7 separate regions of the Homo sapiens genome follow, and all the other regions are linked to region 6. Evidence: promoter capture Hi-C in 16 types of primary human blood cells and fetal thymus (Javierre and others, 2016). All regions are on one chromosome and are shown on one strand. Each heading gives the region's core, a stretch centred on a gene start or on the middle of the fragment in contact. The rest is flanking DNA. Distances are from core to core; before and after follow the strand shown. Region 1 overlaps FGGY (FGGY carbohydrate kinase domain containing). Region 2 holds the start of LOC124904192 (a long non-coding RNA gene). Region 3 overlaps FGGY (FGGY carbohydrate kinase domain containing). Region 4 overlaps FGGY (FGGY carbohydrate kinase domain containing). Region 5 overlaps FGGY (FGGY carbohydrate kinase domain containing). Region 6 holds the start of JUN (Jun proto-oncogene, AP-1 transcription factor subunit). Region 7 overlaps FGGY (FGGY carbohydrate kinase domain containing).

The links. Contacts are between HindIII fragments. The CHiCAGO score rates a contact against its expected background, and 5 or more counts as called.
Region 1: a contact is called between a fragment that was not itself captured here and the fragment with the promoter of JUN in region 6, in 1 of 17 cell types (neutrophils). The highest score is 5.7, in neutrophils.
Region 2: a fragment that was not itself captured here is called in contact with the fragment with the promoter of JUN in region 6 in 1 of 17 cell types (neutrophils); the score reaches 5.5 in neutrophils.
Region 3: a contact is called between a fragment that was not itself captured here and the fragment with the promoter of JUN in region 6, in 1 of 17 cell types (total B cells). The highest score is 5.4, in total B cells.
Region 4: a contact is called between a fragment that was not itself captured here and the fragment with the promoter of JUN in region 6, in 1 of 17 cell types (neutrophils). The highest score is 8.0, in neutrophils.
Region 5: a fragment that was not itself captured here is called in contact with the fragment with the promoter of JUN in region 6 in 1 of 17 cell types (neutrophils); the score reaches 6.0 in neutrophils.
Region 7: a contact is called between a fragment that was not itself captured here and the fragment with the promoter of JUN in region 6, in 1 of 17 cell types (total B cells). The highest score is 5.0, in total B cells.

The regions. Positions count from the first base shown.
Region 1 is chr1:59,355,354-59,358,922 of GRCh38, forward strand. The region is part of intron 4 of FGGY (FGGY carbohydrate kinase domain containing); the gene reads left to right. Among named protein-coding and RNA genes, the nearest start is that of FGGY, 60 kb to the left of the region's middle. The HindIII fragment of the contact is 4,250 bases long and covers 140-3,569 here.
Region 2 is chr1:59,498,196-59,501,523 of GRCh38, forward strand. The region is part of intron 6 of FGGY (FGGY carbohydrate kinase domain containing); the gene reads left to right. It overlaps LOC124904192 (a long non-coding RNA gene), which reads right to left and starts at 2,837. Exons shown (of 3, transcript XR_007066139.1): 1 at 2,758-2,837. The HindIII fragment of the contact is 3,856 bases long and covers 1-3,328 here.
Region 3 is chr1:59,404,585-59,408,190 of GRCh38, forward strand. The region is part of intron 5 of FGGY (FGGY carbohydrate kinase domain containing); the gene reads left to right. Among named protein-coding and RNA genes, the nearest start is that of FGGY, 110 kb to the left of the region's middle. The HindIII fragment of the contact is 734 bases long and covers 1,920-2,653 here.
Region 4 is chr1:59,448,522-59,451,897 of GRCh38, forward strand. All of the region lies in intron 5 of FGGY (FGGY carbohydrate kinase domain containing), which reads left to right. Among named protein-coding and RNA genes, the nearest start is that of FGGY, 150 kb to the left of the region's middle. The HindIII fragment of the contact is 3,309 bases long and covers 81-3,376 here.
Region 5 is chr1:59,519,263-59,522,891 of GRCh38, forward strand. The region is part of intron 7 of FGGY (FGGY carbohydrate kinase domain containing); the gene reads left to right. Among named protein-coding and RNA genes, the nearest start is that of MIR4711, 210 kb to the right of the region's middle. The HindIII fragment of the contact is 6,777 bases long and covers 1-3,629 here.
Region 6 is chr1:58,782,719-58,786,229 of GRCh38, forward strand. JUN (Jun proto-oncogene, AP-1 transcription factor subunit) reads right to left here and starts at 1,329. Exons shown (of 1, transcript NM_002228.4): 1 at 1-1,329. The coding sequence starts at 352. It overlaps JUN-DT (JUN divergent transcript), which reads left to right and starts at 2,433. Exons shown (of 2, transcript NR_108106.1): 1 at 2,433-2,587. RefSeq lists enhancers at 1,027-1,774, 1,289-1,548, 1,775-2,520. The HindIII fragment of the contact is 7,855 bases long and covers 1-3,511 here.
Region 7 is chr1:59,326,663-59,330,366 of GRCh38, forward strand. All of the region lies in intron 2 of FGGY (FGGY carbohydrate kinase domain containing), which reads left to right. Among named protein-coding and RNA genes, the nearest start is that of FGGY, 31 kb to the left of the region's middle. The HindIII fragment of the contact is 331 bases long and covers 1,464-1,794 here.

The DNA of each region.
Region 1 (3,569 bases), core at 1,015-3,514, 570 kb after region 6:
AACTATCAGTATGGAAAAAAAGACTGGCCATATACACACAAGAAAACATTAATACTGGTACACTGTTCATGGTTGGAAGAGTTTGCTACTGTTTTAGCACAATGCTCATGCTTTTATTACTTAGTAATTTTCCATTCAAAGCTTGTAGTCATAGCTAACCTTTCTGGTTGACAACACTTCATTATTGAGCAAGGGATTTTTTTTTTTTCTTTTTGGGCTTATTTTCCTAAAAAGCAACATGCTAGGGACTTCACAGGCAGAATTTTATCTCTGCCCTTTAGTGACACAGTGTAACAGCATGCTGTTTTACTGTATCTGTGTGGCAGTATGAGGAAACCAAGACTCAGAGGACTTAAGTAGCATCCCCAAAGCTACACAATAGTAGGTTGTAGAGCCCAGATTCTCACCTAGTCCAGTCTGCCTCCAGCTCCTGGGATCTAACTATTGCCTCTCACTGCCTGCTTTTAAAGGGCACTCATTTCTTCCCACTTGCCAGGGCTACAGGCTGGCAGACCACTGGCTGAATCTGGTCCCCAATCAGGTTTAGTTTGACCTACCATGTGCTTGGAAAAAAAAAATAAACAATTTTAAATTAGTTTCCAATATTTAAAAATTGAGAAATTTTATCTGAAAATTCAGATTATTTATTTTCCTGAATAAATAATGAAAGAACTTGGCAATACAGGGTCCACACTTCCATGCAGAAGGGAACGGCTGGAGCTGAATAGGGGCTGCCTTCTTTAGAAGGGGTCGGCATTCTTCATTTTGCAGCAGTCCTCACCCAGCCTGCTACACTCATTTCCTTTTTCAGCCCTACCCCTCTGAGCACTTGAATTTGAGACTTAGGCTGTGGGAATTTGTTCAAGGAATCTGTCATTACTTTTCCTCTAGCAAGCGCTTAGAGAAATGGAAAGGCATTCCAGATGGCGAATTTCTTGGTCCAGGGCTCTCATGATTCCATGCCTGTATTCTCTCACACCTCTGGGTCTTTGCTCAGGTTTTTCCTTCTGCCTGGCAAACTTATAGTAATTTCTTCCTTCACCAGGAAAACTTATAATAATAGTTCAAAACCCAGCCTTCACTGCCTCCAGGAAGCCTTCCTTGACTTAGGGTCCTACACTCTGTCCCCTGTGGCATTCTATGCTTATCTCTACCCTAGAATTTATTGCATTACATTGTGCTGTATTTATCTCAGTGTCCCTAGCCTCCAGAGCAATGTTTAAATTCTAACATTAATAACTTATTATATATTTTGATGGGTGGATGAATGAGCGGATGAACTTATTAAATCATCTCATGCCATTTTTGATGGCTAGGTGCATTTGTCCAATCATTTCATTCCAAACTAAAGGTTCACTGTATGCCCAACATAAGTTAATTTTCTCTTCCTCATTGTGGAAAATGAGATTTGAGCATTACTGTTCCTTTCCATCCTAGAGCCACCCCTTGGCTGCAGTCCTGTTACCGGAGTCACAGCTTATTTTGTATGCAAAGTGAAGGCTCTAGACTGAGACAGTAACTCCTCTGGGCCTCTCCACTGTGTCTTTGGACTCCTGTGATGGATACCACTTTAAGTTGCTCCCTTCACCCCCCAGGAGAATCCAAGACTCATCTTCTCAATCAGAAAGACTTTCTTTAGAATGTTTATACCAGGGCCCTGTATATTGGACCAGATTCCTCCCAGCCTTTGAGGAATGAAGACAGTATTGTCAGCTGCTGTTAGGGCATGTGTTGTGGATTTTCTCTCCAGGGTGGGTACTGGACTTGTAACTAAATACACAGAATGTTGAGGCTGATGGCTTGCCTTCATCTACCTGGACAGTGAATCCTTTCCTTATTATCCTGTATTTGCATATTTGATTTATACCAAATATGTGTTGCATTCTTTTAGTTTTATAGTCCAGCAAAGTAATTTTTAAAAGGCAGACAAAAGAAAAAAAGTTGTTGGCCAGATACCTTGTAACATTTAATAAATGTCAGCTATTATTATAATACTTTAAAAAATTTTACTTTATGGCTATGGCAGACTTTCATAAATATTTCCTTTATATGATCTATGACATGACCTTGTGGGATAAATATTACTACTTCTCACATTTTACAGATGAATACAAGCCTCAAAGAAATGAAATGACTTCTCTACAGGTATCAAATCTTGGTGAAGGTCCTTTGGGCTTAAACTGGAGCCAAATGAAGTCCCTTGGATCTTAATGAAGGTCCTTTTGGCTTTAAATTCTGGTATATGTGTGTGTGTGTGTTATTCTGCTGTACCATGTTTCTTCCTCATTTGGGTTGGTGGATTTTCAGCTCCATAAAAGCAGGGACCAAATCTATCTTTTCATACCTTACTGTTTTATATCCCCAGAGCCAAACACAGTGTTTGGCATTGAAAAAATACTCAATAAACATTTACTAAATGAATTCATGTCCCCTGGCCAGCCAGGAGCTAGCCATGTGACTGTAGTGCTGAAGACCACATGCCTGGCTTACCTGTTGCCAGTCTTCCTGACGGCTGTGCAGGGATGTTGGCCACCTCTAGGAGTCATTAGTGTAACCAGAGAGGTACGAGGAAGGATTGTGAAGTTAGGCTTGCTTTATGTACACATGGTATGATTCTGTGTCGATCAAAAATTGAACAAAATTCTTTTCTCATAGTGGCTAAAATGGAAGTCACACTTACTGGAGGAAAATACGATCTTTATAGAAACAACACTGAAAAGGACAATGCATTTAATGTGTGTTGTGATACAGTAACTCATAGCGTGTAAACTGTCAACTTGGAAATCTAGAGGCTCAGGGTCAATGGATGTCCACTGATGCAAGGAAGGTGGCAGGCTAGAAGTCCAAAAAGGTGCAAAATGGTATTCTTTTGGAGGAGTAAGTAAATCTCATTTCTCTGAACACCTGGGCTGTTTTACTTTCTTTTTTCCTATTATCCAAAGTGACCATAATTGTTCTGTTATTGTAGGGATATATTCATTTAATCAGTGAAAGAAACTTTTGTCTGGTAACTACTAGGTACAAAGTACTGTGCTTGGTGATGGGGAGGAAAGGAGGAAGCCAAGCTCACCCTTTATCTCAAGGAATTCCCATATCTAGTACCAAGAGCGAGAGGCTGTGAAAGCCATTACCCGCCCTGCCACCCCCCCGCCATGTTTTATTATCAAAATTTCAAACATATAAAAAAGTTGAAAAACTTTTACAGTGAATACTCAGAGCCATCACCTAGAGCCTGCCATGGACATTTACTGTCCTTGCTTTATGACTTATGTTGTTTCCATCTGTCTGTTCCTCTACTCAGCTTACATTTTTGGAATAAGTTGGGAGATTGTTACACTTGGGAAGGCAGTTTGAAATATTAAAAGTTGTTTACATTTCTGAAATATTAAATAAGTTTTAGTTAAGATATTGACTTTGTTTTATTGCTATCTACATACATGGCCAACACCTGTACTAGACTTTATTAAATATCCACTGTGTGCTTTCAAATCTTCTATCCCATTTATTCTTATGAAAATCCTGTGAGGTAGATGTTATCACTTGCTTTGCAGATGAAGAAATTGAGGATG
Region 2 (3,328 bases), core at 498-2,997, 720 kb after region 6:
TCACAACCCTAAAATATGTGTATTTTACAAATGAGGAGAAGTAGGCTGGCGAGTAGCTTGCCCAAAGTCATTCAACTCAGAAGAGAGGCCATCGTTTAATCTTAGATTGTACTTGTAAAATTCACACATCCAATACATAATGCCTTTAAATGTTCTCATTGTTAACATTTATTTTCTTTGGATTCTGTGCCTATTTCTGCTTATGTCTCCGGATTACCTGGGAGCTTTTAAAAATAAGAATCCTAGGGTTCCACTTTATAACATTGACCAGAAGTCAAGAATGGGGCCCAGGAATTGCTATTTTCAGAAGCTCCCTAGGTGACTCTAATGCAGGGCTCTTCATACCTTGGTGTGCGTCAAAATCACCTGGTGAGGGAGGATGGCTGGGCTCCACACCACAGTTTCTGCTTCAGTAGGTCTAGGGTGGGGACTGAGAATGCACACTTCTAACAAGTTCCCAAATGCTGTTCATGCTGCCATCCTAGCACTTGAGCATTTTTCCCAATATGTGTATGATCCCCCTCCCCCACCAACTGGGTGACGTAGATAGAACTTTAAGTGTCATTAAGTTATGTCATGTTTTGAATCTTTCTCTGCTCGATTTCCACGTCAACATGAGTGAGGGCTTCAGGGATTTTACTCCATCATTTTGGCTAAATGCCAACTTGGCAAATTCCACTCCTCCCCCGGAGGGACTGCAAATGCCAGTGTCCTCCTTCATTCAGGAGTGAGGTCATTGTCTGTGTGGTTAAAAGTGGACACTTTCTGCTGCTTCTGCTTTTGCACTGTAGTAGAAGTTTCAAGGAGCTCTATTTTACAGTTCCAAATTACCATCCCTCCCCTCTTTAATGCTTCCAAGATGGATAGTCTCTCACCATAGGTTAATGTTTAGATTTTGATCTCTATTTCTCAGCCCCCCAAATCTGGATGATCCTCTGGTGCCAGAGCTGTTGCATGTATCACCCCTGGACACTTTCTTCTCTGCTTGAACCAGAGAATAATTATATATAGTAGTTCCCCCTTGTCCATGGAAAATACCTTCCAAGACCCCCAGTGGATGCCTAAAAACATGGGTAGTACTGAACCCTATGTATACTATGTTTGTTTTTTTTTTTTTTTTGATCTGGTAACTGAGAGGATTACTAAGCGGACGACAGGGAGGTAGTGCCTACAGCATGGATTTGCTGGACAAAGGGATGATTCACATCCCAGGTGGGACCAAGCTAGATAACGTGAGAATTCATCACACTATTCAGAATGGTGTGCAATTTAAAACTTATGAATTGTTTATTTCTGGAATTTTCCATTTAATATTTTTGTACTAGAGTTGACCATGAGAAATTGAAACCATGGAAAGCGAAACTGCAGATAAGGGGAGACTGCTGTGCTAGAGTGCTATAGAGGATTTCATTTGGAAAAAAAAAGTTTTGGTCCTGGAAAAAAAGTTTAAGAACATAGTCGTATTCCATTTCTTCATATGTTTGAGATATTTCTGGCTTTGGTGAAACATAGGCTAGGAAAAGAACCTAACATCTTATTAGTGTAACTGAACAACAGTAACAGCAGACTTAGCCTTTCTTCCTTATGTGCAACATTACCTGTGACCTGACTCTTGAAACATAGCTGCTATTAAAGTACAAGTGAGTCATGCATAGCAGCTTCTCCTTGCCCAGTTAATTTCTCTGTAAAATCTTTACTCTCTTTTATTCATGTATATATATGTATGTGTGTGTGTGTAAATATATACATATATATGTTTGTATTTCCCTTTAAGGATTTCAAACACAAAGACCCTAGTCATTTGATTGTCTCTGTACTGTCGAATTTTGCCTACAACCCTGACTGTAGAGACACATTGTTACCTGTTTTCCATATTCTGTCTAGTAAATGCTTGGTTGTCAGGACAACGGCATAGAAGGTGGAAGCTCATTGATAACCACGTGAATTCTTTAAACAAATATGATCAGAGCAAATTCCAGGGTATGCTTGAAAGTAGATTTAAGGAAGAGCAAAGGTTTCAGACATATCCTTCCTTTTATAAACTTGATATTCATCTTTAAGGATCAGCAACAGTTGGAGTTACTCATAATTTTATTTAAAATCCTGAATAAAGATATCACCTTAGTTTTATGGTACGTTTGTCATTCCAGCTTGTTAGGCATGAGTGTGTTGTTACTGACAGAGCCCCTGGAGGACAGGCAGACACTGTGGTTCTCCATGGTCTCTCAGTACCAGGCACAGAGCAAGCACCCAATACATATTATAGGAATAAATGATCTCAAATCTTCACAGTGCCTCTTATAGATGGCTTTTATGATATATATCTGCAGAGAAACTGAATTCAGGGATTTTAAGTGCCTTTTTTGCAAGGCCCTTAAAGTTTGGGAAAGTAGGTGCATGGAATTAGAACTCAGATTATCCTGACTTCTAAGATCACACTCTTCATTGTAGCACACTGCCTTCTTGCCAAAAAAAAAAAAAAAAAAAAAAAGGAAGAAACATGTAAAAAGACAGACCATTTCTAAGATGAAATGTGTGCTTTTCAAAACAATAGCAGAAAACCTTCTTCAAAGGTAAAATAGTTGGAAATAGAAGAAGAAATAATATGTAATTTAGCGTTCGTTGAGGATAAGCAATTAATCCTGCCCTCCAGGGGTGAATTTATGTCTAGCCTATTTGCACATGAAAGTACAAGTTGGGCTTCATTTCTATGCAAGTAAGACATCTGGTTGGGAAGTGAAAAATTTTGTCAGTTACCTGAATCATGTTTGGTCTACATGATAGAAAAGCCCCTGATGTCTTCAGATCACCAGAAGACATTTGGCATTGTATAGTTAACACCAGATCCACTGACTGAGTGGTTCACCTGAGAGTTGCTGCTTGACATCCTGTAGATTCACCCATTGTTAGGAGGCTGTTACCATTTTGTAAGTCAGCAGTTTGCAAACAGTAGTCCAGACGAGAAACCAACGCTGGCCCTTGACAAAGTGTTCACTGGTGTGTGATGCAATAAATACATGAGGTCATAAAAGGAAGTGTATTTACCTTAAAAAAGAACATCCTTTATTTTGAGATCCTCTGCTTCCTATGTTTTTAGTGATACAATTTTGTGTCAAATAAATCCTCATTGTAAGATTTGGTTTTAATTAGTAAATGAGACAGGATAAAAAATTGAGAAACCTATATAAATCCCTAGTTTTCTTTATGTGATCTTTGTATTTGATTGTGAAAAAAAAAAGCAAAATTGTAGAAACCACTGCTTTAAACCTTGTAATATTTTTAGCACAATGACACCTAAAGTATTTTCATGTATTTCCCAAGTTTTCCT
Region 3 (3,606 bases), core at 1,037-3,536, 620 kb after region 6:
GTTGGCCTCCCAGAGTGGAGCATGGATTGCAGCAGGGGGCTGAGGCTGGAGGGGGAGAAGTGTTGAACTAATTCAAGGGATGTTGGAGGGCTAAACCAGTGTCTCTTCTGCTAAATCTGAGCAGAAGAGACAGATCTGGAAGCTTCTGGTAAGGTAGGCTTGATTGAGTTTGGTGAGAAGTTAGATGAGGAGGGTGAGAACCTAGCATCTGGGTGTCTGCTAGATAGATGCTGCTGCACCACACCAATGTCCGTGTGTCTGGGTACCGAGGTGGTGTTCAGGACAGGTCTTCTCCACGTACTGCCGCTGAGCTCACATCCACGCTGTGCATGCTGGGCTGAGTTCTCTTCAGGCTGTTTTCAGCTGACTTAAATGCAACACGTGATGATGAGCATATTTACATAATGTATGCCTGGTGAAATCACGAAAGATTGGAATTTCCCATTTTAATTCCATTTTAAAGATGCTTGTTAAGCAAAAGGATATAATTCATTTTTCAAACTGCTGAAATGTTATTTGGCCTCTTGAATCAAAGGCATTCCGCAAGTGTTTTCTTTATTACATGCCTTAAACTTTAATTAGAATTTAATTATAAGATCCTGAAGGCATGAGCAAGAGGAGCAGATGGGATAGTAAAAGCAGCTTAGTGAGGGAGGATTAAAGATTAAAAGTTGCTTGTTAATGGCATAAGAAATGAACAGAGAGCTAAATTACTATGCTTTTGTGCTATCCTGATGCTTTTTCGATTCTGTAACTTATTCCTGGTTGCAGGTTTTTCAATTCTGCAACTTATTCCTGGTTGGAAGTTGAAGAATCTCACAAATTAGATTTTTAATTTTTTGAGTTGCTAGAGTAGATTTGTACATAGAAAACAGGTAAAACCTGACAAAAAGGTGTTTTATGGCTAGTAGCACCTTGTACAATAATTTCTGCATTGTAGGGGCTTAGTGGTATTTACTGAATTGAACTAAAACTTACATCATCTCACTAGTAAACATCGAATGAGCATAAAATAAGATTTTTTTTTAGAGATGGATGGGGAAGGTGTGAGTCTATAAGTCCAGGCTAACCTGTCCCATGGAATGTTAGATACCTACTCAGGAAGGTAACTTGTATGAACCTCCCACCTTTAGCCTACCCCCCAGTCGACCTTAGTCATTTGCCCCACTTGGTTGGTTGGCTAGAGGAGTGGTAGAAATTTGGTGTGGGAAACACTTTGAGACTGCTCCTCATGTCACACAGTGAGGATGACCTGCTCTGCTCTCTGGTGCTATGTTACGATGATCTCCCGTTAGGCTAAATTATTCTACTTCTTAGTGCTTTTTCCCCTAGCTTTTTTTTTTTTCTTTTTGAAATCTGATATTTAGAGTCCTCTTCCCCACTTAATTGCAAGCTCAATGAAGAAAAACTAGAGAACAATAAGATAGAAAAGAAGACAAAAATGTAGTGAAACAAAAAGCATTCTATCTCCTATTTTCCAGGAACAAATGTTTTTTAAAAAGCTTTTTTAAGCCTGTTAATAGACAGTTGATTCTTCATTATTTGCAGATTCTTTGTTTGCAAATTTGCCTACTTACTAAATCTTATTTGTAACCCTCAAATCAATACTTGTGGCACTTTCACAGTCATTCGCAGAAATGCTCAGAGAGGAGGATAATTTCTGAGTCTCTCGTCATGCGTGTTCCTAGCCGATGGCAAATAACACAACACCCTGCCTTCTTGTTTCAGCTCTCATAGTGTAAACAAGTGTCCTTTTCGAAGTCTACTCGTGCCATGTTTTTCTCATTTTTGTGCTTTTTGTTGGCGATTTCACCATTTAAAATGCACCCCAAGCATTGTGCAAAAGTACTGTGTAGTGTTCAAGTACAGTGCAAGAAAGCTGCGATGTGCCTTACAGAGACAATAACGTGTGTTTGATAAGCTTCATTCAGGCAGGAGTTAAGTGCTGTTGGCTGTAAGTTCAGTGTTATTGACTCAACAATATATATTAAATGAGTTGTTTTTAAGCAAGAATACACATGAAACAGGGTTGCGTATTGATGAGTTGGCAAAAATATAACTGGAGGCTCAGAGGAACCTAGCCCTGTATTTCCCTTAGGAACAATGGTCCAGTGTTCCCTAATTTAATGTTTTTGGAGACTACCAAAAATAATAAGGTCAGCCATGTATCTTTCTCCTTTTCTCCTTGCTCTTGCTTGATCTTTCCATCTCTTGTTACCTCAATCTGTGTGTATATGATATGCATATATTTACTTAAATTATATATGCATATATTTAGCAATTATGATATCACATGATACACGATTCTGCAACCTGTCTTTTAACTTATCAATTGTGTTGGCCTTTGGGCTGTTTGCACTGAGATCCATTTGTCACCCTTGCCCTGCTCTGCAAGGGTGCTGTGTTACAGGGGGTTGACCCCTGCCCCCTGACAATTTGTCATCAGTGGGAGATGGCAAGGCAAGAGAAAGAGAAGCTGGAGTATTTGTCCCTCCCTCTGTCTGCCTTGGGCAGCATCTCTGGCAGTGGCCCCTCTACAGCTATCCCACCTGCAGGTTGGGTCCTCCATGGCTCTGTCATCGGCTGGTTGGTCCTGGGTCTCGAGCTTTAGCCCTGCCTTCTTCCTTTGTCCTTTTAGCTGATGGGTGGAAGAAGCTTCCTGCTGATGCTGATCTCTGAGTTTCTTCCCTGTCCCCTGGGTAGAGCATCAGATTTAAAAGCCAAGGCAAGACAAAAAATGAGAGAATGGTAGCAAAGATCCAACACTTTACAAGACCGCCTGAGAAAAGGGAGGAGGGGGTGGTTCGACACCAGGGCCTGCACACTGAGTGTGTGATGTTGCAGCTCTGCAGGCACAGATTAAGCAGCTAAGATGCCATCAATGCTTGGAAAGCAGCCGGTGCCTCTTGTCCTGAGCTTATTTGTCTGGAATATGATTCCCTTGAACCTGACTAGCTCATCCACGGGGAGAGAGAAAAAAAAATATTCTGATAGTTATCCTGACCAGGCTCTAACAGGGCCTCCTTCCCTAGGATATAATTTTTTCTGGCCTCTTTCCATTCACTTCTTCACATTAGGACCCTTTTCCCCCAGAGTGTGAGATTCCCTGAGGGCTCTAAAAACTGGAATGCTATACAGCATTTTAAGCCCCCTGTGTTGGCACAGTCCTTATTAAAAATGTATTTTCCTCAAGCCATGGCTGCACCCCCTGAAGTGTGGATTAACAGAAAGGCCTTCAGAGCTGGAAGACATTTTTGAAGAACCGCTGTACCAAGTGGCATTAAATATTTATTGCCTACTACATGTAAATTGTTCATCATCTTGTTTTAACTCTTGGACCAAAAGGTTTCTCATCTGCTTTCTGCTAAAGTGGAAATCACAGGAAAGGTACTCTTTACTTTGCTGTGGTATTTTGTTTTCCCAGGAATACGGAATATTTCTTTGTTCTCATAAGTAATACTAGAAAAGATTGCCTTGACTCTCAGCATTTCATTGGGAGGCCATGTGGTGTCATGATGGAGAAAAACTCGAATTCTGGGGCAAGTGCATTGGGCTTTGCCACCTGCAAGCTGTGTTGGCTTGAGAACCTGATACCATTTATGTTTG
Region 4 (3,376 bases), core at 485-2,984, 670 kb after region 6:
TCTCCAGCCTGCATACAGAGCAGTATCTAAAGATCTAGGCTTTATAATAGAAGCCATTAAAAAATGATTAGGAACCTGAAAGCTTCCTTCTATAACTGAGATCTGAAGGTTTTTATTCATTCACTTAATTAACATGCATTGTGCTCTCAAAATTTGCCAGAGTAGCATTGTGCTTATTCATCCATATAACTGGATGAAAAAGGCAGATATGGACCCTGCTGTGGGAGGTTGTGGCCTGACCTTATATACTGAAATTTCCAGAAGGCCAGATAGAGCATCAAGAAATAAAATAAAATAATAACATTCTTTTATGATAATGAGATAGATCCTTCAGTGCCTCCTGGTCTTCCCCACTCATACACACTCATGCCTAAAATAGTCCACGGTTCTGGACTCCTTTAGTGGGCCAGATCCTTTCATCACCATGGGCTGCTGAGACCACTGGAATTTCAGGCAAACCTATAAAACAGGGGCAGCTTTAGGTGACCACATTCTGTCATGAATCCTTGATTTCATATACAGTTTTTGCATTACATGTTTGCTAGTCCTAGGCCAAAACAAAAGGAGAAAAGATCTAATTTTAGCTGAGTTCGAGTTGCCTTTCTAAAAATTATGATTTCTTCTTTATGAGTCTTTTTGGTGAATTGACCCTTTTCTCAATATGTAATGTACCTGTTTATTCCTGGTAACATTTCTTGTTCTGAAGTCTACTTTGATATTAATATAGCCACCTCAGCTTATTATTTGTATCTGCATGCCTTATCTATTTATTTATTTTTTGAGACTGAGTCTTGCTCTGTCCCCCAGGCTGGAGTGCAATGGCACAATCTCGGCTCACTGCAACCTCCACCTTCCAGGTTCAAGCAATTCTCCTGCCTCAGCCTCCTGAGTAGCTGATTACAGGCGCACACCACCACGCCCAACTAATTTTTTTTGTATTTTTAGTAGAGATGGGGTTTCACCATGTTGGTCAGGCTGGTCTCGAACTCCTGACCTTGTGATCCACCTGCCTCAGCCTCCCAAGGTGCTGGGATTATAGGCGTGAGCCACCACACCCAGCCTGCATGCCATATTTTTGCATCTTTTTACTCTTTATCTTGCATTTTTATATTGAAAATAAGTATTTTTTGTTTGTTTTGTTTTGTTTTGTTTTTATCCAGGCACTGCGACTCACCTCACACCTGTAATCCCAGCTACTCACAAAACTAAGGCAGGATGATTGCTTGAGGCCAGCAGATGGAGACCAGCCTCAGCAACATAGTGAGACCCCCATCTCTAAAAAATAAAAAAAAGAAAAAGTAATCTGGGCATGGTGGTGTGTGCTTATAGTCTCAGCTACTTAGGAGGCTCAGGTGGCAGGATTCCTTAAGCTCAGGAGTTAAAGGCTGCAGTCAGTCCTCATCATGCCACTGCACTCCAGCCTGTGTAACAGAGTGAGCTCTTCTCTAAAAAGTAGAATAAGTTTCTTTTAAACTCCATATAGTTGGGTTTTATTTTTATTCAGCTTTATTATCTCTGCCTTCGCACTGGAGATTTTAGGTCATTTACATTTATTGGTTGGGTTTTAATCTATTTTCTTTTTCTGTCTTCCATATATTCTATATAATTATTCCCTTTTCCTGTATTCTCCAGATTACTTAAATATTTGTTAGTATTCCATTTTATCTCTAAAAAGTTTTACCTCTTGCCAGTTTCTAATATGCGTCTTTCACTTATCACAGTCGACCTTAAAATAATTTTGATGCCTCATTATATATAATACACTTTCATATCTTCCTGTGATTTGTGCTATTATTCTCATATGATTTGTTCATGCATTGGATTGTATAAAGATTTAAATTCAATTTTTTTAAAGAAATTTATGTCTGTTGTATTTACTCACATATTTAGCAGTTCTGATACTCTTCATTCCTTTGTGTGTGTTCACATTTCCATTTGGTATCTTTAACCCATGTAGTTTCTGCATGAATTATAAAGTATTCTCCTTCTCCCTCCTCCTATATGAGTATACAGAATTGAGTTTGTTGATTGTATTAACACCCTTTAATTCCCCAGTAGTAATAATAATAGCTATTATTACTCTTATAGTTTACATGTCTCTTCACATTCTGAAAGTACAATCACATATTTAAATAGAATTGTCTTTTTTCAAATGCTTTTTAAATTTTAGAAGCTCTTGTTTCATATATTTCATACTACATTGTTTGGTTCATAAAATATTATGAATGGTAGTTTTCTTGGATTGAGCATTTTGTCATTATGAAATATTCTTCTTTTCCTTGTTAAATATTTTTGATCTTGATTCTACTTTGATACTTATATTGTCATTTAAAAATTTTTTTGTTTGTATTTGTTGTAGAACATTTTTGAAAGAAAACTGAATCACATTTTAAAAAATCTGAATTATAAACAAGGTATATAGCTTAATTTTAACCACAGTATGATTAATCTTATCTTTTAACTGGTTGTGGAATTCAGCCCATTCACATTTGATGAAATACTGAGATAATTGACCTTATTTGTTCCATCTTATTTTGTTTTCTATTTATATTACATCACTCCCCATTCCCTTTCCTTTTTGTTTTGTGTGGTTTATTGGTTTCACTGGCTTGTTAATTTTTTCTTTATTCCCTTTTATTCCTTGTTACTTTGAGAGTCCTACTAAGTGTTTTGTTTCTACTAGTGGTTACATTCTCATTCCTTATAACCAACAATAAACTTATGTTCTGCCTAAACATGTATATGTATTTCAAGGAACGTTTTCTGTGTACCCCTTCTCTAGACTCTTACTTAATATTTGCTTACTTAATGTTTATTTTCAGTTCCAGACTGTTACTAAGTTTTTTTTGTTGTTGTTTGTTTTTTTTTTGTAGAACAGCAAGCCTATTGTATTTTAAGAAAACTCAATATTACAGATTCCTGCTTACATTATTATTATCCACTTAGATTTCAATACGTATATGCATATATTTTTATGCATATATGTATATGTTTAAGCATATTATGCACATACATGCATATATATACATATATGCAGGAAAGAGACACACAGAGTGAGAAAGGGTCTCAGTGTCTACTGGTTCCTCTAGTCTTTGATTTCCACCATATTGAGAAAGCTGCTCTGAATCAATTGTTATTTGGTTATACTCTTTCTCAAGTATTGTCCTCAGACAGTGCTTATGAGTTTACTTTTTGAATCCTTGTGTGTTGAAAATGTTTTTTTTGCCTCTTACAGCTAAATAATATTTTGTCTGGGTATAGGATTCTTTAATCAGTTTCTCGTAATAGTTTGTACATTATTCTAGTGTCTTCTACATTCCAGAGTTGTAGATGAGAATTCCCTTAGCTAGGATTAATCCTTTGTAAGTAACCTATT
Region 5 (3,629 bases), core at 882-3,381, 740 kb after region 6:
AATTTTGAAAAAGGAAAGTCTTTAATATTTATTGACGACCCACTTTACTAGTTCATGGGGTTAGACAGTGACTATGAGAGAGAAGTGGACTTCTGGGAATTTGTATTCTAGTAAAGAAAATAGACAAGTAAATAAACAGTTACGGTTACTTGTGCCGTGTATGGAAGGCTTTGGAAAAACATAAAATGGGCCTAAAATTGAGACTTAAACAATTATTAAAGGATTCCTAGAGGGAGTGATGTCCAGTAATCTAATTACGACACTGCTTTCCCTGTTATTGCTTCCTGGTAAAGTGGAATTTATATATTTTTTGCGACTTTTAAACTTCAACTAGGCTTCATTTCTAATAATAAAATAATAACATTGTTAATTAGAACAAATACAACCACCACTCTGACTGGTACTACTATGATGACCATTTCTTACATGTGTCCTATGTGCCAAGTACTCTACCTGATACTGCTCAGACTTTATATCTTGCTCCTCACGATAAGCCTACAAGGTAGAGGTTGTTTCCCCATTCTGCATGAGGGAATTGAAGGCAGAAAGAATAATGTTTCCACAATCACATAACTAATCTCATAGCAAGATTTGAAATTGAGTCTGCCTCCAAGGTTCATATATCTTTTCTCTAGGCCAGTGGTTCTCAACCAGGGGTGATTTGACCCCTCAGGGGACATTTGGCAATGTCTGGGGACAGTTTTGTTTATTGCTTCTGGGGAAAGGGAAATGGCACTGGCCTGTGGTGGGTAGAGGCCAGGGATGCTGCCAAACACCTTACAATGCCCAGGCCAACCCCCTGCAACAAAGAATTATCCAGCTTCAAATGTCAAATGTCAGTAGCACTGAAGGTGAGAAACCCTATTCTCTCCTGGAACACCTCCAGTGATATTATTTCTCTTCATCAATTCAGCTTATTTCTATAGAAGCCAAAAAGCAGCCCACAATAAGGGTTTTGCTGATACATTAGTACTTTGTTGAAATGTGTTTTGTGAAATTGACTCTTCAGTAAAAGTAGTTGTGAGATTAAGAAAATAATAGAAGTGAAGCCTGAGGAGTAGGGAGGACAGGATGGTTTCTAGCTCATCTATTTCAGAGTCAAGCCACACGGGACAACTTGGCCGTCTTTCAGCACATCATGCACATTCCACCTCCTTTCCTTTGTTACTCATCCATCAGCACTCAGTCTAAATGTTACTTTGTGGAAACATCTCCAAATTTAATCCATTCTTAGAAAAGCACCAATCACTCTCTATGCTGTATCTGTGAAATACTTTACAACTATTTCAGTTTTTTCACCAAATCATGTTCACGTTTGTATGCCCATCATCCAGCATGAAATCCACATAGCTGGTCTTCACTAAATCAATGTAATTATTTAATTACTATTATTAGTAATTAAGATAATAAATATAAGAGGGTTTTGAAAAATCCAGAATAAGAATTGGTAAATATAGGTGAGGGAGACTTTAAGAAAATATAGATTCCCATGCCCTACCCTGCTGAGGATGCCTGGAATCTTGTTCTAAGTGTGGAAAATGTCACCTGGTACCCAGAGGAGACAGCCTGGGGGGATGAGTTGGCACTGAGGACACTGGGGTCAGAAGCAGTATTGATGTGTTTCTGCCAAGTAGGCAGATCAGACCAGAGCAGAACCGTGCTGCGCAGGAGCCAGGCCAGGCGCTGGCCAAAAGCTGGGGGCAGGAGGGAGCTTGTCCAAAATGAGAGAGAATATGGATCCAAAGAGGCAGACGGTCTGCAAGAAATTGGGGGTGGGGGGGGATTAGAAATGCAGATAAAGTCATGCCGTGGAATCTGGAAGGAGAAAACCGTGCCAGTCCCTGAGCAGATAGAGCAAGGACAACTCTGGGAGTTCCTGGATGTGAATCACAGAGGGCAGAGGAAGAACGTATTCATGGGATTGCAAGTTTATTGTTTTAAGTTGAGGTTCGGTTTAATGCGACCCACTACTGCCTGAGACCTCGGCAGTTCATGAGCCGTGGCAACAGCTCATGTGATGGAGGGAGGGGCAGAGAGCATACGTGGGGGGAAGGATAACTGAGTTTCCTGTTCCCAGGCTCCAAGGCTTTCTTGGAGTGCTGTGATTCTCTGGACTGCAGAAGGCTGGCCTTAGCTGAGAGACCAGACTTTGACTCTGTGGAAGAAAACCGAGAGAATCCAGGGCCTGGTGCTATTGCCAGCTCCCCATGTGTCCCCAGTTTTTAAATCTTGTGCCACACGTCAGTGTATATGGCTGTGAACCTGCCATGAAACCATAATATTTTGAGTTTAATACATACACTCCTGTTTGGATAATGAGTAATCATAGGCTTTAGAACTAAAAGGCTGCTCAAAGATTCTGTATACCAAATTCTTCAATTTGCAGATGAGAAAACTGAGGCCCAGACAATGGTGAATCATCCAAAGTTACCCCAGCATATTACTTTCAGAGTCAAATTTAGAATCTGAGTGACCTAGTTCATCAGCCAGGGTCCCCGCCCCATTGTACTACACTGTCTCCAGATTAGGAAAAGGGAATGACTCCTGATTTGTTATTCCATTTTATACCTTATATCCCATTTAATGGCCACAGGCAGCTTCACTGGTGGTTATTAAATAGGTAATTTAGTTTTCCTGAGCCACACTTGAGTAAATCTCTTTGTTTTGTTGTCACAATCTACAAAAAGCTCCAAAGAATCTCCTCCAGAGCTGGAAATAATAAAAACACCTGCTATTCGAGTTCCTTCCAAAGAGCTCAAAGCAGTTATTTTTATTTCACCTACCAATCGTTGAATACCTATGCTGTGCCAAGTGTTTTGCTAGGTACTTGACTATTCACTATTGTGAGCTCACAACCACACTGTGAGCTACAATTATTTTTGGACTTTAACATACAAGGATGAAGGTTTAAGAACCTGCCAAAGGTTACATTTTAATAAATTATAAAGTTGGGTTCCTGGACCCACCGATTGCAGAGCCTATGAGCTCTCCCGTGTTGACCTGGCTAGTGAATCTATTTGTGTGTAGGTATGTTTGTGCCTTTACTTACGTTAGCCCATACTTACACCAATGCATATTTGTATCTATAGTGGAAGATAGAGCTTCTGCTTAATATCCTTCTGGACGTTTGTAGATCTATTTTATGGATGAGAAAGTTGAGGCCCAGGGTGGAGAAGTGACTCTAATAAAGTGTATTTAAAGCAGCACAGGAGTCTGGGTTCCATCAATCATGGGGAATAAGGCCAGGCTTATTAGATCAGGGTAGGAATGGGATGCGTAGCTATTGGGGTTGTGTGGTGGAGAGATAAACAATATTAATGTTGACGTTAATTTTGTTTACTAAATTTGTTAATTAATGCTTACAATCTCAATCTCAAAGATTAATCTTAATCTTTTTGTAGTGACTTGCTGTTTTTAAACTACCCTTGGAATAGGGAAGGTATTTTTACCTCCCACGAATGGTTGGGAAAACTGACCTTCGAGGAGGTGAAGGGATTTGCCTAAGGTTACAGGACCAGGAAGACTGGATCCAAGACTCAAACCCTTATTTGTGTGCCTCTGTCTTCACATCAGCTTTAGTGCAACCCTTGCATCAAACAATGGAAAAGTAGTACCTAGTAAATGGAGCA
Region 6 (3,511 bases), core at 79-2,578:
GGGCGCGCACGAAGCCCTCGGCGAAGCCCTCCTGCTCATCTGTCACGTTCTTGGGGCACAGGAACTGGGTGGGGGTCGGCGTGGTGGTGATGTGCCCGTTGCTGGACTGGATTATCAGGCGCTCCAGCTCGGGCGACGCCAGCTTGAGCAGCCCCACGTCGGGCGAGGTGAGGAGGTCCGAGTTCTTGGCGCGGAGGTGCGGCTTCAGGCTCCCCACTGGGTCGGCCAGGTTCAGGGTCATGCTCTGTTTCAGGATCTTGGGGTTACTGTAGCCATAAGGTCCGCTCTCGGACGGGAGGAACGAGGCGTTGAGGGCATCGTCATAGAAGGTCGTTTCCATCTTTGCAGTCATAGAACAGTCCGTCACTTCACGTGAGGTTAGTTTGGGCTGCGCGCACAAGTTTCGGGGCCGCAACAGGGCTGTGGCAAGCGGGGGACACCCGCGCCCCCCGGAGCCTTTGACAGGGAAAGTTTCTCTAAGAGCGCACGCACCCGCTGGCTGTCGTCCCCGCTGCGCCCTCCTCACCAGCTCGCTCCAGGGAGCGCAGGGTTAATTAAGATGCCTCCCGCACTCTTACTTGTCGACTCGCGCGCGCTACCCGGCTTTGAAAAGTCGCGGTCACTCACTGAGCGCTCTTCGTGCGCAGCGGTTCCTCGGAGTCCGCAGGCGAACTCACTTCCCAGAGCAGCGGCTCTCCCCGCGGAGCGGATCAGTGCGGACCCTGCAGTGGCCGGCCGGCGGCGGGTCTTGGCCGCCCGGACTCCGACGACTTGTCCCCTCCTCCGCTGCTAGGGGGAGGGGGCGCCCGGCAGCCGCGGCTCGCGCTCGCCCAAGTTCAACAACCGGTGCGAGCGAAGCTGAGCGCACGTCCTTCTTCTCTTGCGTGGCTCTCCGCCGCCTTCTGGTCTTTACCGCCGTGGAGAAGCCTAAGACGCAGGAAAGGCTTGCAAAAGTTGGCTCCGGGACTCTGCCACTTGTCTCCGGTCCTCCCAGCCGGGAAAGTTCTTTGCTGCTGCAGCCGCTCGCCGACTTCCCCCGGCGGGCGCGTGGGTACCGCTGCTTTCCGCCGCTGTCAACAGCGCCTGGGCAGCAGGGCTCTCCTCCCGGGGGCGGCTGGAGACCAGGCTCTCTGGACACTCCCGAAACACCAGCCCGGGAGCCACAGGCGCTAGCTCTGGGCAGTTAGAGAGAAGGTGAAAAGAAAATAAGATTTGCAGTTCGGACTATACTGCCGACCTGGCTGGCTGGCTGTGTCTGTCTGTCTGCCTGACTCCGCGCACCTCCACTCCCGCCTCGCTGCTTCAGCCACACTCAGTGCAACTCTGAGCCCTTATCCAGCCCGAGCTCAACACTTATCTGCTACCAGTCAACCCCTAAAAATAGCCCATGATGTCACCCCAAGGCCTTCCCATTGGCTCGCGTCGCTCTCAGGGGGGCGGGCCCGCCCGTCACCATGGAGACTCCACCCTAGAAGATTCTTCTCTGGGCCCGCGGAGGCTCACGGGATGAGGTAATGCTCCGCTGCCCTCCTACAGTCGGGCCCTTCTTTCTCCTACCCTCCCCCCTGCCGCACGCCTCTCGGCCCTCTCTTCCCCGGTCCCCTCCCCGGGCCGTTTTTCCCGGCCCGCCCGGTGCATTGTGGGCTGACGTCTTGGGGTTTGACTGTCTAGTGACGGTGGCTGCCGCGAGCGGGCGGACGCTCGCAACCTCTGATGGAGGGGGGCTCAAGTTCACGGCTGCGGACGGGGATGCGGGGGATGCAGGGACCCGGGAGGCCAGGGAACCTGGCCAGTTGTTTTGGGCCAGGGGTGCGGGCGAGGGGTGGTTGTTGTTTCCCCACTTGTGGGGCCCGAAGTCATCCACCGGCGGCCGCCACCGCGCGGGGCTGGAGGCTGAGAATCCAAGTACGCTGCCACCCCCCCGCACTTCCGGGGGGGCGGGAATACCGCCCTTAAGGTGGCTCTGTGAAGTCCCAGGTGGGGGCGAGCCTAAGGGGACTTAAGTTTAGGGGCGGTCTCCCGAGAGTCGGCCCCCCACGTTGAGAACACTCCGAAGTTTGCATCTCGGTCAAGTTCAGGAGCGACGGTCCGCGGGGTCGTCTGGCTGCTCGTAGAAGCCGAGAGATTTGTATTGCCCGAAACTGGACGCTCAGCTGAGTCTCCGTTGCACCCCACTTCATCCTCCGGGACCGTGGGGGAAAGGGCGCGGGGGTTCACAGCTTTGCCTCGGAGGGGCAGTTTTTATAGTGGGCGCAATTGGTGGGTAACAGGGTCCAGATGGGAACAAGCGTGTAGGCGATCCGAAACTCGGGGAACCCCGGTGTTAGTCTACTCCCCCTCCCGCCCCCGGACAACACGCACACGCTTAACACAACACGCACAACATAACGCGCGCGCGCGCGCACACACACACTCCATCCGCGCCGAGTTGCTTCCGGGAAAACAAGCCCAGAAGGCGGCGGACACTCGCATAAAGTCACGCAGTAGTACTCGGAGCCCGGGGTAGAACCTGGACTTCAAATCTCTGCACTCCCGGCCGGGTGGTGGGCGCATATCCTGGGTAGCCTCTAGGAAGCGCTAGACACATGTAAGTGGTTCCTTTTCCGCGGTTATTTTATTCTCCCCCCGCCCCCCACCCCTTAGGGACGAAAGTGTGTGGTGGAAAGAATCCCGAAGTCGGGAATCCTGGTTCTTTCGTGGCCAGGCTACCACAGTGTGAAGCAAGCAAATCACGGAACTCCTCCGAGCTTCATTTCCCTCATCTGCAGGTGGGGCCGGTGCCGTCCACCTCACTGGGCTGCCAGGAGTTAGTGTGACAGGGTCGCCTGCAGCACTAGGGAGGTGGTGGCCAAACAGCCCGCTTCCCTCCCCTGCCTCGCAGTTTCCATCCTCGCAGAGCCTGGATAGGATGCCAGGATATAAGAGTGCGATTTGGCAGGACCAGGTGTACTTTCCTGTGAGAAGCATCGAGGGGAGGAGGGGAGGGGGAACCGGGTTAGAAGTCAGATCTTTCCCAAGCCTCTGTCTAAAACTGGGGCTTGAAGTTGGACCTGCAGCAGTTTAAGTTCCTAGGTTCTAAATTCAGACTTCGCTGCTTCTGAACTTGGAATTCAGCCTTGGGTTCATTGCCCCCAGCCCTAAGGTATTTGCGGCTTTGAGTGTTCAGAAACCAACAGCAGCTGGTATCAGTGGGAAACCTGCCAACTTTTCTTCACTCCGGGCACTCACCTAGCTTTCACTGATCTGCAGAGGGTAACTGAAAGCCTACTGTGAGCCAGGCACTGAGCTGGGGAGGGGGTGGGGTAGGTAGGTATACAGTGATGACAAGATCCAGTTGCTTCCTCAAGGAGAGAACATTCTCCTCTGTCTGTTGCCCTGAATCATTTTCTGTTGTATTCAGGGAGTTGGTGTTCTAAATATTTTTTAATAACAGTAATAAAAATCAGTTTCATGTATTAAACACTTATTATCTGCCAGGCATTCTCCTAAGCAATTTAAATACGCTGTTTTC
Region 7 (3,704 bases), core at 379-2,878, 540 kb after region 6:
AAGAACCTAACTGATGTCTTGATATTCATTTTTCTTTTCTCTATTCTTGCATTTGAAGTGTTTTTTTTTTCCTCTAGTGCTAACTGATCATGTCACTCTTTTGCTACAGCCCTTCAACATCTATCACTCTACTACAGGCATAATGATAAATTCAGTTCCAGAACACCATAATGAGGTGAATATTGCAACAAAGCTCACATGAATTTTTGAGTTTCTCAGTGCATATGAAAGTTATGTTTACATTATATTGCAGTCTATTAAATGTGTAATAGCATTAGTCTAAAAAAAGTATATAACTTAATTTTTAAAAATTGCCAAAAAATGTGTTAATGATCATCGAAGCCTGCAGTGAGTTGTAGTCTTTTTCCTGGTGGAGGGTTTTACCTTGATGTTGATAGCTGCTTACTAATTAGGGTGGTGGTTGCTGAAGGTTAGGTGGCTGTGGTAATTTTTTTAAGTAAGGCAATTTTTTAAGTAAGGTTTGCTGCACTGATTGACTCTTTCTTTCACAAAAGATTTCTCTGTAGCATGCAATGTTGTTTGATAGCATCTTATCCATGGCAGGACTTCTTTCAAAACTGGAGTTAGTTCTTTCAGACCTTAGCCTTATCAGTTAAGTTTATGTACTATTCTAAATTGTTTGTTGTCATTTCAACATTGTTCATATCATCTTTATCAGAAGTAGATTCCATCTCAAGAAATCATTTCCTTTGTTCATCCATAAGAAGCAGCCCCTCATCGGTTCATATTCTATCATGAGATTACAGCAATTCAATTTCATCTTCAGGGTCCACTTCTAATTCTAGTTCGTTTGGTATTTCCACTACCTCTGCAGTAACTTCCTCCACTTAAGTCTTGAGCCACTCAAAGTCATTCATGAGGGTTGGAATTAACCTCTTCCAAATTCCTGTTAATGTTGATATTTTGACCTCCCATGAATCATGAATGTTCTTAATGGCATCTAGAGTGGTAAATCCTTTCCAGAATGTTTTCAATTTACTTTATCTAGATCAATTAGAGGAATCACTATCTATGGCAGCTATATCCTTACAAAATGTAATTCTTAAATAATAATACTTGAAAGCTGAAATTTCTCTTTGATCCATGGGCTGCAGAATGGATGTTGTGTTAGCAGGTATGAGAACAACATTCATCTCCTTGTACATCTTCATCAGAACTCTTTGGTGACTCGGTGCATTGTCAATGAGGAGTAACACTTTGAAAGGAATCTCTTTTCTTTGAGCAGTAAGTCTCAACAGCAGGGTTAAAATATTCAGTAAACCATGCTGTAAATAGATGTGCTGTCATCCAGGCTTTGTTGTTCCATTTCTAGAGCACAGGCAGAGTAGATTTAGCATAATTCTTAAGGGCCCTAGGATTTTTGGAATAGTAAATGAGCATTGGCTTCAACTTAAGTCACCAGCTGCATTTGCCCCTAACAAGAGAGCCAGCTTGTCCTTTGAAGCTTTGAGGCCAGGCATTGGCTTTTTGTCTCTAGCTGTGAAAGTCCTAGATGGTATCTTCTTCCAATATAAGGCTGTTTTGCCTACCTTAAAAATATGTTGTTTAGTGTAGACACCTTCATTGATTGTCTTACCCAAATCATCTGTATAACTTGCTGGAGTTTCTACATCAGCACTTGCTGCTTCACCTTGTGTTTTTATATTATGGAAATGGCTTGTTTACTTAAACCTCCTGAACCAACTTCTGGTAGCTTCAAACTTTTCATTCTGTAGCTTCCTCACCTGTCTCAGCCTTTACAGAATTGAAGAGTTAGGACTGTGCTCTGGATTAAGCTTTGACTTAAAGAATGTTGTGGCTGGTTTGATCTTCTATCTAGACCACTCAAATTTTCTCCATATCAGCAATAAGACTGTTTCACTTTCTTATTCAGGTGTTCACTGGAGTAGCGCTTTTAGTTTTCCTTACGAACTTTCTTTTGCATTCACAGCTTGACTATTTGGTGCAAGAGGCCTATCTTTTTGCCAGTCTTGGCTTTCCCTATGCCTACTTGACTAAGCTTAATCATTTCTAGCTTTACATTTAAAGTGAGAGACTATGACTCCTTCTTTCACTTGAACATTTGGAGACCATTGTAGGGTTATTAATTGGCCTAATTTCAAAGTTGTGTCTCGGGGGTAGGGATCCCTAAGGAGAGGGAGAGAGATGAGGAATAGCTAGTCTGTGGAGCAGTGAGAACACACACCACATTTATCTATTAAGTTTGCCCGTCTTATATGGGTGCAGTTTGTGGTGCCCCAAAACAAATGCAATAGTAACATCAAATATTATCATAGCAGATATAATATTAATGAAAGTTTGAAATATTATTAAGAATTACCAGAATGTGACACAGACATGAGGTGACATGAGCTATTGGAAAAATGACACTGATAGACTTGCTCTTTGCAGAGCTGCTACACACCTTCAATTTGTAAAAAACACAATCTGCAAGATGCGGTAAAGCAAAGCACAATGATACCAGATATGCCTGAGGCATACCTCAAACTGCGGTTTTAGTTCCAGACCACTGCCACAAAGCAAATATCTCAATAAAGCAAGTCACATGAATTTTTTGATTCCCCAGCATACATAAATGTTTTGTTTGTGCTGTACCGTAGTCTATTAAGTGTGCAATAGCACTGTATCTAAAAAAAAGGTACCTTAATTAAAAAATACTTTATTGCTAAAAATGCTAATGAAGTGAGCACATGCTGTTGGAAAAATGGCAGCAATGGACTTGCTTACTGCAGGGTTGCCACAGACGTTCAATTTGTAAAAAATGTAATATCTGCAAAGTGCAATAAAGTGAAGCACGATAAAATGAGGTATGCCTGTATTTGGGTAGAACTCAATCCTTAACATGGCCTTCAGGGCCCTACATGGCCTGTCTCGACTTGCATTCCTGGCTCATCTCATGATGCTTCTCCTGGCTCTCTGCATTCCAGCCACACCTTCCTTCTGTCATGTCCTCAAACATGCAATGCTCCCTTTAGCGTAAGAATTGTTACCCAGATTCTTTCTTCTGGCTGCATATCCTTCCTACCTTCCACCAGCATATCTAACTCCTGTTCATCCTTAGACCTAAGCTATCCAATCCAATAGTTGCTGAACCCACAATGCCATTTAAATTTATAGTAATTACAATTAAATATAATTAAACATTCACTTCCTCTTTTGCTCCAGCCAAATTTCAAGTGCTCAATAGCCACATGGTGGCTATTATACTGAACAGCACAGATATAGCACATTTTCATTATTGTAGAAAGTTCCATTGGATAGTGCTGCCCCAAACCTTAATTCAAAAGTTAGTTCTTCAAGGAAGGAGCATTTTCTCTACCAATACCACCTCCAACTAAGTCTTATTTCACTTATTAAATGTTTTCACAGTGCCTTGTACGTCTCTTTCATAGAACTCCATGTGGTTCGTGAATCATTCATTTTTTGTTATCAAATAATAAAATCATTCTATAAATCAAGAATAAAATACCATAAAATGAAACAAAATAATAAGATATTTCACTTTTTGGATTAATGTATGTCTTCCCTACTAGATTTTATGTTTCAGGAGGGCAGGAGCTATGTTTTGCTTACCCAGAGCCTGGGTTATATTAGACCCAGGAAGTGTAAAAAAAATGAAGGGTCAAAAGAAATTGAGAGCACTTTGGGAGGCCCAGGTGGGCAGATCATGAGGTCAGGAGTTT